Linked DNA regions of Homo sapiens: region 2 is linked to region 1. The links are contacts of gene promoters, found by promoter capture Hi-C in human tissues and cell types (Jung and others, 2019). All regions are on one chromosome and are shown on one strand. The core of a region is centred on a gene start or on the middle of the fragment in contact, and the rest is flanking DNA. Distances in the headings are between cores, read along the strand shown. Region 1 holds the start of YIPF2 (Yip1 domain family member 2). Region 2 holds the start of ELAVL3 (ELAV like RNA binding protein 3).

Evidence for each region. Contacts are between HindIII fragments. The study calls those that stand out against the background at their distance.
Region 2: a contact is called between the fragment with the promoter of ELAVL3 here and the fragment with the promoter of YIPF2 in region 1, in 3 of the 25 tissues and cell types used here (dorsolateral prefrontal cortex, hippocampus and lymphoblastoid cells).

The regions. Positions count from the first base shown.
Region 1 is chr19:10,927,168-10,932,668 of GRCh38, reverse strand. It overlaps YIPF2 (Yip1 domain family member 2), which reads left to right and starts at 4,030. Exons shown (of 10, transcript NM_001321439.2): 1 at 4,030-4,158; 2 at 4,229-4,289; 3 at 4,710-4,870; 4 at 4,953-5,039. The coding sequence starts at 4,259. It overlaps TIMM29 (translocase of inner mitochondrial membrane 29), which reads right to left and starts at 3,858. Exons shown (of 2, transcript NM_138358.4): 1 at 3,753-3,858; 2 at 2,415-3,655. The coding sequence starts at 3,846. The coding sequence ends at 2,967. RefSeq lists silencers at 3,413-3,462, 3,503-3,782 and enhancers at 3,996-4,696, 4,697-5,399. The HindIII fragment of the contact is 42,517 bases long and covers 1-5,501 here.
Region 2 is chr19:11,479,782-11,484,929 of GRCh38, reverse strand. It overlaps ELAVL3 (ELAV like RNA binding protein 3), which reads left to right and starts at 3,884. Exons shown (of 7, transcript NM_001420.4): 1 at 3,884-4,330. The coding sequence starts at 4,322. ZNF653 (zinc finger protein 653) reads left to right here. Exons shown (of 9, transcript NM_138783.4): 8 at 789-888; 9 at 1,071-1,501. The coding sequence ends at 1,248. RefSeq lists silencers at 2,078-2,517, 2,548-2,797. The HindIII fragment of the contact is 31,814 bases long and covers 1-5,148 here.

The sequences.
Region 1 (5,501 bases), core at 2,781-5,280:
GATGCCTGTAATCCCAGCTACTTGGGAGGCTGAGGCAGGAGAATCGCTTGAACCCAGGTGGCAGAGGCTGCAGTGAGCCGAGATCATGCCACTGTACTCCAGCCTAGGCAATAGAGTGAAACTCTGTCTCAAAAAAAAAAAAAAAAAAAAAAAAATATTGGCCGGGCGCAGTGGCTCACACCTATAATCCCAGCACTTTGGGAGGCCGAGGTGGGAGGATCACTTGAGGTCAGGAGTTTGAGACCAGCTTGGCCAACATGGTGAAACCCCATCTCTACTAAAAATACAAAAACTAGCTGGGCATCATGGCATATGCCTGTAATCCCAGCTACCCAGGAGGCTGAGGCAAGAGAATCACTTGAACCTGGGAGGCAGAGGTTGCAGTGAGCCGAAATCGTGCCACTGCACTCCAGCCTGGGTGTCAGAGTGAGACTCTGTCTCAACAACAACAACAACAACAAAAATACAATTTACCATAACCTAGCTAAGTACCAGCTGTGTACACTAACTTACTTCTTTTCATAGAATTCTGTTTCAGGGTTACTGAAGTACAACATAACCAGAATCTATGATTCCATATAGATTTCCAGACCAGAAAATGCTTTATCCTTCCAAGCCACCTCCAGTAACTTACAATGCTCATCTGGTAAACAGGTTGTTTTACAAAAAACTTCCCTGTAACATCCCAATAGTCATGACACTGTCAATTGCCTGGTTTTGTATTTTTAATAGGGAACGAGGGCCGGGCACGGTGGCTCACGTCTGCAATCCCAGCACTTTGGGAGGCTGAGGCAGGCGGATCACCTGAGGTCAGGAGTTTGAGGCCAGCCTGACCAACATGATGAAATCTCATCTCTACTAAAAAATACAAAAATTAGCCGGGCGTGGTGGCATGCGCCTGTAATCCCAGCTACTTGGGAGGCTGAGACAGGAGAAACGCTTGAACCCAGGAGGCGGTGGTTGGGGCGAGTGCCACTGCACTCCAGCCTGGGCAACAAGAGCGAAACTCTGTCTCAAAAAAAAACTTAAAAAAATCAAAACAAAAATGTTACTTATTTATTTATTTTTTTGAGCTGGAGTCTCACTATGTTGCCCAGGCTGGAGTGCAGTGGTGCAATCTCTGCTTGCTGCAAGCTCCACCTCCCGGGTTCACGCTATTCTCCTGCCTCAGCCTCCTGAGTAGCTGGGACTACAGATGCCTGCCACCACGCCCAGCTATTTTTTTTTTTTTTTTTTTTTTGAGACGGAGTCTTGTTCTGTCGCCCAGGCTGGAGTGCAGTGGCGCAATCTCGGCTCACTGCAAGCTCCGCCTCCCAGGTTCATGCCATTCTCCTGCCTCAGCCTCCTGAGTAGCTGGGACTATAGGTGCCCGCCACCACGCCCCGGTAATTTTTTGTATTTTTAGTAGAGACGGGGTTTCACCATGTTAGCCAGGATGGTCTCGATCTCCTGACCTCGTGATCCACCTGACTGGGCCTCCCAAAGTGCTGGGATTACAGGCGTGAGCCACCGCGCCCGGCCAATTTTTTTGAATTTTTAGTAGAGATGGGGTTTCACCGTGTTAGCTAGGATGGTCTCCATCTCCTGACGTCGTGATCCACCTGCCTCGGCCTCCCAAAGTGCTGGGATTACAGGCTTGAGCCACCGGGCCCATCCACTTATTTTACTTTTTGAGACAGTCTCACTCTGTTGTCCAAGATGGAGTGCAGTGGCACGATCGTGGCTCACTGCAGCGTTGAACTCCCAGGCTCAGGTGATCCTCCCATCTCAGCCTTCCTGAATAGCTGGGACTACAGACATGGTCCAACATGTCTGGCTAATTTTTCTATGTATACATATTTTCAATTCTCATTCAACACCTTTGGTAAATTTTTGTACTTTTTGTAGAGACGGGGTTTTGCCATATTGCCCAGGCTGGTGTTGAACTCCTAAGCTCAAATGATTTGCCTGCTTTACCCTTCCAAATATTTTAGTTTTTGAGAAAGCTCTCACTATTTTACCTAAACTGGTCTTGAACTCCTGATCTCAAGCAATCCTCCTACCTCAGCCTTCCAAAGAGCTGGGAATGGCAAAAATGTTACTTATCAAAATGAAAGGCCAGGTGTGGTGGTTCACTCCTATAATCCCAGCACTTTGGAAATGCGAGGCAGGTGGATCACCTGAGGTCAGGAGTTCAAGACCAGCCTGGCCAATATGGTGAAACCCCATCTCTATTAAAAATACAACAATTTGCCAGGCATGTTGGCACAGGCCTGTAATCCCAGCTACTGAGGAGGCTGAGGCAGGAGAATCACTTGAACCTGGGAGGCAGAGGTTGCAGTGAGCCGAGATTGCACCACTGCACTCCAGCAGGCAAAACAGAGCAAGACCCTGTCTCAAAAAAAAAAAAAAAAAAAACGAGAGAGAATAGGTCATAGAATAAAAACATTTCAGCTCAAATTTTATTTAGTTAATTACTATTATTATTCTTTTTTGTAGCATCGGAGTCTTGCTATGTCACTCTAGCTGGCCTCAAACTCCTGGCCTCAAGCGATTCTCTTGCCTCAGTTTGCAAACTGCTGGGATTACAGACATCACCATGCCAGGCCACAACCCAAACTTGAAAAAGAAAATCTAAGTGGCCTTAGAAGAGTTTGCAAGTCAGCTGACCAATGTGGTACCTCCTTAAGGAGGGCCTCTGAGGCCCGATGAAAAAGGCTTATATAAAAGGCTCATGACCAGCTCTGCCAGTGATGAACATGTGTCAAGTCGTTCTGCTGTCCCCAACTCCCGGACCCAGGTGGCTCTGAATTAGCTTCAGCTAATAAAGAACAAAGACGGGGGGCAGAAAGGCTCCCCAAACTTGTGCAAATCCAGTGAGAAAACACTTTGCACATCATCTGTCTCAGCTGTTCTGCAGGTGAGGCACACTCAGAACTGCACCACCCCAGGCAAGCAGTTTGCCAGGACTCGGGGGCCTCAGGGTTTCATCTCGGGGCCTCCGCCTGCACCAGCGAGTGGGCCTGGCTCAGGGCGAGCCTGTCCTTCTTCTCCTTCTGCAAGACCTGCTCCTCCCACAGCGCCTGGTCCACCTGATCGTCGGTGAGCACGACAGGCTTGTACTTCTCATCGAAGAGCCGCTCGTTGGTCTCGGAATGCAGCTGCTGGGGCCCGACCACCCGCAAATGCGCCGGCAGGTGCAGGAATTCGTCGTCGTTGATGTCGCAGTCGCGCATCCAGGCCCCCAGCACCCACCAGCGACCCACGAAGCCCACGTCCAGGACCCGGCCGGGGAAGTCGGTCCAGCGGGGCTGCAGGTAGCGGCAACGCGCCTGGTAGAGGCTGGCCTGGGCGTCGAAGGGCGCCTCGTACACCAGCGAGCAGAGCCCCAGGTTGACGTAGCGCAGGCGGCCACGGCCCCGCAGCCAGAGCAGCCTCTGCACGAAGGCTTCGGACTCGCGGTTGCGGGTGGCCGGCGCCAGCAGCAGGAGGGTCCCCGACGCCTCCAGCAGCGCCTCCTCGAAGGCACCCTCGCTGGGCGCCAGCGTGAAGCAGGCCGCCGCGCCGCCCAGCAGACCCACATACACAGCGGCGCGCCCCGGCCGGGCCCTAGCCTCCGCCGAAGCGTCCCTGCAGGCCTCGGCGTAGTCCCGGAGCAGCGCGCGGGCCCAGGACCCTGAGGGGAGAGGAGCGCGGTAAGAGTGATCCGGCCGCGGCGGCCACCCACCCTGTCGCGGCGGCCACCCACCCTGCCGCCTTCCGCCGCTACTCACCCAGCCGCGCCCACACTCCCGGCTTCGCCACTACCGCGTCGCCCGCCTCTGCGCGGCGCCGGGACCAAAATCTCCTCAGAGCCGCCGCGGCCATCCTCTTCCGTCTTGGGGGTCCTTGCTCCGGGAAGAAACTCCTGATACCCGACGTTAAGAGCCCGGGAGTCTCTTCTGCGCAAGCGCCAACTTTACCGGAAGTGGCTTCCCAACGGGAGAGGATAGAAAGAGGACAGGCGCCGGATGTTGCTGTCAGGTCTGAGTCGGTTGGAGTCTGACGGGTAGGCGAGACGCGCAGGCGCAGAGAGCCCCAGCCACGCCGGCCCAGGTGGCCTCAGGTGAGGGGGGGCGGAGCGCACCTGTGGGGACGGGACGACGAGTTCAAGCCTCCGTGGGTGCAGTTGGTCGCCAGGTAGGGCTGGGGGCCGAGGGACCGGCTCGGGGGCGGGGGGGAAGTGTGCCTGACCGGTCTCTGTCCTCAGCGAGGGATGCGGAGACGCCCCTGAACGACCATGGCATCGGCCGACGAGCTGACCTTCCATGGTGAGTGCGGCCCCGACGTGGCCGGATCTCCCACTCCCGCCCCGGGCCAGAACCTCCCCCCGATACGGCTTCCAATTTCTCTACCCCGAAGCCTAGGCGGCTGTGAACCCTGACCCAGGAGTGAGACCCATCTCTGACTCGAACCCCGCCCCCGCCCTGAACTCAGACCTCAAACCCGAGCCTCTCGTCCCCAGACCCTGACCCCATCCCAGCGTCAACCCTAAGTTGCAGTTCCACTTTAGGAGGAAGGGAACAGATGTCCTCCGGATGCCTCCAAACTGAGGAAGTTGGGCCCCACCTTGGGGGAGATCAATGGCTCAGCAGAGCCTCCGCCCCCAGATGAGCATCGGTTTAGCTTGGGCCCAGTCGAGTTCTTTCCACCCCTCAAACGTGCGTGTGTCCCATATACCTCCTCCACAGAATTCGAGGAGGCCACTAATCTTCTGGCTGACACCCCAGATGCAGCCACCACCAGCAGAAGCGATCAGCTGACCCCACAAGGGCACGTGGCTGTGGCCGTGGGCTCAGGTGGCAGCTATGGAGCCGAGGATGAGGTGGAGGAGGAGAGTGACAAGGCCGCGGTGAGTCCCTGTGTCCTGCCTCCTTGCAGCCCCCAGCTGACCCAGGCTCTCCGGGCAGGCACTGAATGCCCGCAATGTGCAGCTCCTGCAGGAGCAGCAGCAGCAGCAGCAGCCGGGATTCTGGACCTTCAGCTACTATCAGAGCTTCTTTGACGTGGACACCTCACAGGTCAGGCTGGGGAGGCAGGTGGGATGGGGCTCAGAGTTATGCTCAGGGTTCAGCCACTCTTCCCCTGGGCAGGGTGCTGGTGATGGTGGGTGCTGGTGAACGAACTGTGGTGCTCTCAAAGGGTTATGGTGGGACTGGTTATGGATCGGGACTATGGGAACACAGGGGACACACACAATCTGGTGGGTTAGAGAAAGGCCTCCTGGGGGAGGTGAGGAATTGGCTGAGACCTAAAGGAGACAGAAGGCTTCCCTGGGGAATAGGGTAGGGAAGCAGGAGTATATGTTCCAGGCACAGGGAACAGCATATGCAGAAGACCAAAGATGGACTGGGCGCAGTGGCTCCTGCCTGTAATCCCAGCACTTAAGGGGGCCGAGGTGGGCAGATAACCTGAGGAGTTCAAGACCAGCCTGGCTAACATGGGGAAACCCCGTCTCTACCAAAAATACAAAAACTGCCGGG
Region 2 (5,148 bases), core at 2,635-5,134, 550 kb before region 1:
TACAGGCGCTCACCACCATGCCAGCTAATTTTTTTTTTTTAGTAGGGACAGGGTTTCGCCATGTTAGCCAGGCTTGTCTCCAACTCCTGATCTCAGGCGATCTGCCCACCTTGGCCTCCCTAAGTGCTGGGATTATAGGTGTGAGCCACCGTGCTGGGCAGAAGTTTTTTTTGTTTTTGTTTTTGTTTTCATTTTGCGAAATCACCCAAAGTTCAAATATCAGGGACAAGGCCGGGCGTGGTGGTAATCCCAGCCCTTTGGGAGGCTGAGGTGGGCAGATCACCTGAGGTCAGGAGTTCGAGACCAGCCTGACCAACATAGAGAAACCCCGTCTCTACTAAAAATACAAAATTAGCTGGGCATGGTTGGTGGCACATGCCTGTAATCCCAGCTACTCAGGAGGCTGAGGCAGAAGAATCGCTTGAACCCGCGAGACCAAGGTTGTGGTTGCGGTAAGCCGAGATCGGGCCATTGCACTCCAGCCTGGGCAACAAGAGCGAAACTCCGTCGCAAAATATATATATACACACACACAAGACAAATTCAGACCCATGTTGGCTTGGTAGTGTGCACCCTATGCCTCTCAGGGACCCAAGTTCGATCTCAGTTCTGCTTGATGGCGTCTGTGGGCAAATGCACGGGAAGGACGTAGGGTTTGGTCGGCCTGCACCTGCAGTCCTGGGAGATCCAAGGAGACAGCCTGATGCTCCTTCTAGCATCAGAGTCTGCAGCACATCAGAGACACCCCATAGCCCACCGTCCTCAGCCTCGGTCCCCACCGCCCCCAGGTGTCCGTGAATTCACCTGCGAGACCTGCGGCAAGTCCTTCAAGAGGAAGAACCACCTGGAGGTACATCGGCGCACCCACACCGGCGAGACCCCCCTGCAGTGAGTGACAGGCCGCCCCGTGCCGCTAGAGGATTGGGTGGGAGGGGATCCCAGCAGGTCCCAGGGGCGGCTTCGCCCCAACGCAGTGTCTGGGCCCGGTTCCACCTGCGCTCGGCCTTGTAGGGCCCCGCCCCGCCCCGCCCACTCTGACCCCGCCCCGTCCCGCCACGGGCTCCCGGCAGGTGCGAGATCTGTGGCTACCAGTGCCGGCAGCGCGCGTCGCTCAACTGGCACATGAAGAAGCACACTGCGGAGGTGCAGTACAACTTCACGTGCGATCGCTGCGGGAAGCGCTTCGAGAAGCTGGACAGCGTCAAGTTCCACACGCTCAAAAGCCACCCGGATCACAAGCCCACCTGACCCACCTGACCACTGACCGCCCCTATTTATTCGTCCGCTCGGACACCACGCCCGGGCTTGCCGGGGCCTGGACAGCTGCGAGGGCCGCCCGGACCGCGGGCCGGAAGGAGGCGCCCCCGCCCCGCCCCAGAGCTGGGCCCCCTGGGCAGGTTCCCCACCCCGCCCCACCGCATCCTTCTCGGAGCTGGTGCCTGGGGCTGCATTGCTGGAACTGTGTCAAGAGAGCAGAGTGAGATTAAAGAGCGAGAAAGGAGATGCCCTTCCCCTAGGCCTGAATGATTTGGGGTGCCAGGCCCCTCTCTGTCTCCAGCCTACTTGATCCCTTCCTAAGCGAGGCAGGGAACGAGGGATGCCCCTGGGCCCAGCAGCCTCGCACAGCCCCTGCTCCCACAGGATGGGGTGAGGCTTGGGGGTCTGGGGTCTCTGGGCATCTCCCGGAACTCAGGACCCTAATTTCCACTTCCTCCTGTTTTATGGGGCACCCATCTCCCACCCTCAGTGAGCTCCGGGATGAGATGGGGAGGTGTTCAGTAAACCCCTAAAATGAGAAACATTTGCAGCTAGCGACAAGCGCCATGCAAAAGAGAGAGTGATGCGTTGTTTTCCGGGGATGCTGTTTAGGTCGGTGGTCAGGGAGGGCCTCTGAGGAGGTGGCATTTGCGCATAGACCAGAATGACAAAGATCTATCCCAGAAGAAAGCTGGGGGAGGAAATTCTCAGGCCAGAGGAACAACCAGTGCCAAAACCCCGAGGTAGAACTAGCTCGGCGTGTTCCTAAAACAGGAAGCCGCGGGGGGAAGGGGAGTTGGCGGCGGCTGCCCTGGCCCCATTTCCCGGAGGAGGATGCTGAGGCCGCCGCCTCCTGCGGGCCGCTAGAGAGAGGGGCGGGGAGCGAGGCGCGGCCGCTAGGTGGCGTGCGAGGCGCGTAGGCCCTGGTGGCCGCAGCCACGTGACCCTGGGGACCGCAGCCGCGAGCTCAGGCACGTGCCCGGGGGAGCCCTGTGGCGCCACGCGCAGATTGGCCCCGCCGGTTCCTCACCAGTTCGGGGGATGAGGCGGGGCCCCAGCTATGCCTCAGTTCCTGCTGCGGACCGGGGGGCTACCCCAGCCGGGGACAGAAGAATCGGCAAGGATGAGCGAGTCCGGCCGCTGGGGCCGCCCCCGCGAGCTCCCTCCCCCCGCGAGGCAGGTCCCCTCCACTCTCCCCGCACTGCCGGAGCCGGCAGGTTTCCATGGGAACCGCAGCGGGGTCCGCGCGCCCAGGAGCAGCCCCCCTCCTAGCTCAGTTTCCGATGACGGAAACCGGGAGGAACACGGGGTGGGGAACAGACCATCGCTTGGGGCCCCTAGCGCCCGCAGCCAGGTCGCCCCGGCGAGCCCAAGAGGGGCCACCCGGGGATCTGCACCGCCACCGCCCCTATTGCGCGGGCCACTGCGATTGGCCTGCCCTTTCCAGGCGTGGCAGCATCCCCTGGTGCGCGCACTCCCATTGGCTCGATCTCTAGGGCATCTTCCAGTAACTGGTTATCTCAAGGGCCGCCCCTGATTGGGCAAATTAGGCTCTCCTCGCTGGTGGCGCTCTCTGACAGTCTGGAGCCTAAAGGGCGTGCAGGAACGAGGATTGGGTGGGGACTGCCGCTCTCCAGTTAGGGGGTCTGGGCTACCTCGCCGGCAGCGCCCTCGACCGGACTGTCGGATTGCTGTCTGTGGTGCTGAAGCCTCACGCCCTGGCGACCCCGCCCCAGTGTGTGCTAGTTCCCGCGCCCCGACGTAAACATGCACCGGCGCCCGCGCACCAAAGGAGGCTGCGCCACCCCCAACGCCTTAGAGAGAGGCCAGGTTCCCCCTAGCAGAGAGCGAGCATGACTCCACAGTCAGGAGGACCAATCACGAGCCTAGAAAGCCAGGACATTTATGTGGCAGATCCACCCACCCCAGTTCTGTGGGGTCCAAGAAGGATCCGTGGTTTCCCAGAGCTGCATGGCTCCAGCGATGATTGTCCAGAACACTGAGCCCCAAACCTTTTCACCCCCTTCGGAGCAGTGCGGAGTTTCCTTGCACTGGGGAGTGCCAGTCCTTACCTTTTGAACCCTAGAAGGATCCAGCTCACTCAAAACCAACAGCGTCCCAGTCTCCTTCTGCAGAAGACTAGGGCCACAGTAGCCACCCTCCCCCGTGGTCTTGAGGTGGTCTACACTGGTGCCTCCAAATCTGGGGACCCAGGCCTCTGCCTACTAAAATATTGGTTCCTGATCCCCTGTCCAGTTCCCTCAGTGGACAACACCTCTGGAAGGTCGCATATTCAGGCCACTAATACCTCCTCGCTCTGTTGGCTCCTCCAGCTCTAGGAGCTGGACGGAGGAGGGGAGCCCGTCTCCTGGCCCGAAAGCCAGCCCAAGAAGGGGTGCCAGGGTAGGAAGCAAGGGCCTCGAGGGAAGGAGGGCCCAAATCTGGCAACCCGAGCACCTAGGATGCGCTTTTGGGGGATTCAGAGTCCCGACCAGTGCGCGCTCACTTCCACCTGCCGCGCCGTCGGGAGCCGCGAGGAGGCGGAGCTCGGTCGCCGCAGCCAATGAGCGACGCCGGCGCTGGCAGCTGCTGCTATAAAGGGCTGGGGGCGGCGGCGGCGCGGTCCAGAGCGCGGAGCGCGCAGCGCGGGCCGGAGGGAGGGAGGGAGGGTGGGCGAGGGGAGAGGACTTGAACACACGGGACCGGACAGGACCGACCGAGGGGCGGCGGCGAAAGGCAGAGCGCCGCGATCTCTGTCGGGAAGCGCAACCTCCCCGGGCCCCGCGGGGCCGCGCAGGGGGCGTCCTCAACCCCGCGCCCGCTCCCTCTTTCCATCCCCTGCCGCCCGCAGGCCACCCCGGGGCCCGGCCATCCGCGCGCGCATCCCCGGGTTCGGGCCCGTCCCTGGCCCTCGAGGGAGCCGCCGCCTTCATCGCCACATCTGCAGCGGCCGCACCAGAGGCCGCCCGGGCGGGACCCCAGCGTGAGCATCGGGCGCCCCCCTAGGAGTGCACCACCCCCGGAGCCCCCCTCAACACGGACCGCGCCCGCCGGGCACACAAGAATGGTCACTGTAGGTATTCCCCTGTCGCCGAAAGGGAATCGGGACGGGGAGGAGTTGGGCCCAGGCTCCGCGGAGATTGGGCGGGTGCGGCGGGGGGGGTAGGACCAGGCCTAGCTAGGCCCGGGTTGGGGGGGTAGGACCAAGCCTCGGGGCCTGAGAGTGGGCAGGGCCGCGCCCAGAGTGCTGAGGGCGCTTAGAGCTTGGTCTGAGAGGGCCTTAGGGAGACTGACTGCGATTCGGGAGGCGTCCGACGCCGCCCTGGAGGCGGGATTGCCCCCTCTCCAGCAGGCCTGATGGGGGAGGGGCCGCGGCGGCTAAGGATGCTTCCTCCATCCAGGCCCAGACCCCGCAGGCCGCCCAGGCAAACGCAGGGCCCGATCACTGGTGCTGGGCCAAGCCAAAGCGACAAAGCGTCCCCGAGAGCCCTGGGAAAGCGGGTGGCGTCGGATCGCGCGCCCCGGGCCTCGGCCGCACCCGGGAGGCGGGCGTCTCGTCCTCGAGCCCGTCGACCTTGCGGCAAGCGGGGAGGGGAGAGGAGGGGGCGCGCCCGGAGGCCCCGCGGGCCCGCCGCCGCTGCTGCCGCGTCCCTTTGTTTCTCGGCGCTTCTTCGCGGGCCGCAGCCTCGCGCGGGCGCCTCGGGCTGCGGGGAGGGGGAGGGGAGAGGAGGGCCCGCGGGTTGGGGGGGCACCTCTGGGCTCCCGGGTCTCCGCCCCCCGGGAGATGGGGTGGGAGGCCGAGACAGCCCCCTTAGGCCAGGTCCAGGCTCCCCACCTCGCCAAGGCTCTGGGCCGCGAGGTGACCTTGAGCGCGGCCCGCCCGCCTGCTCG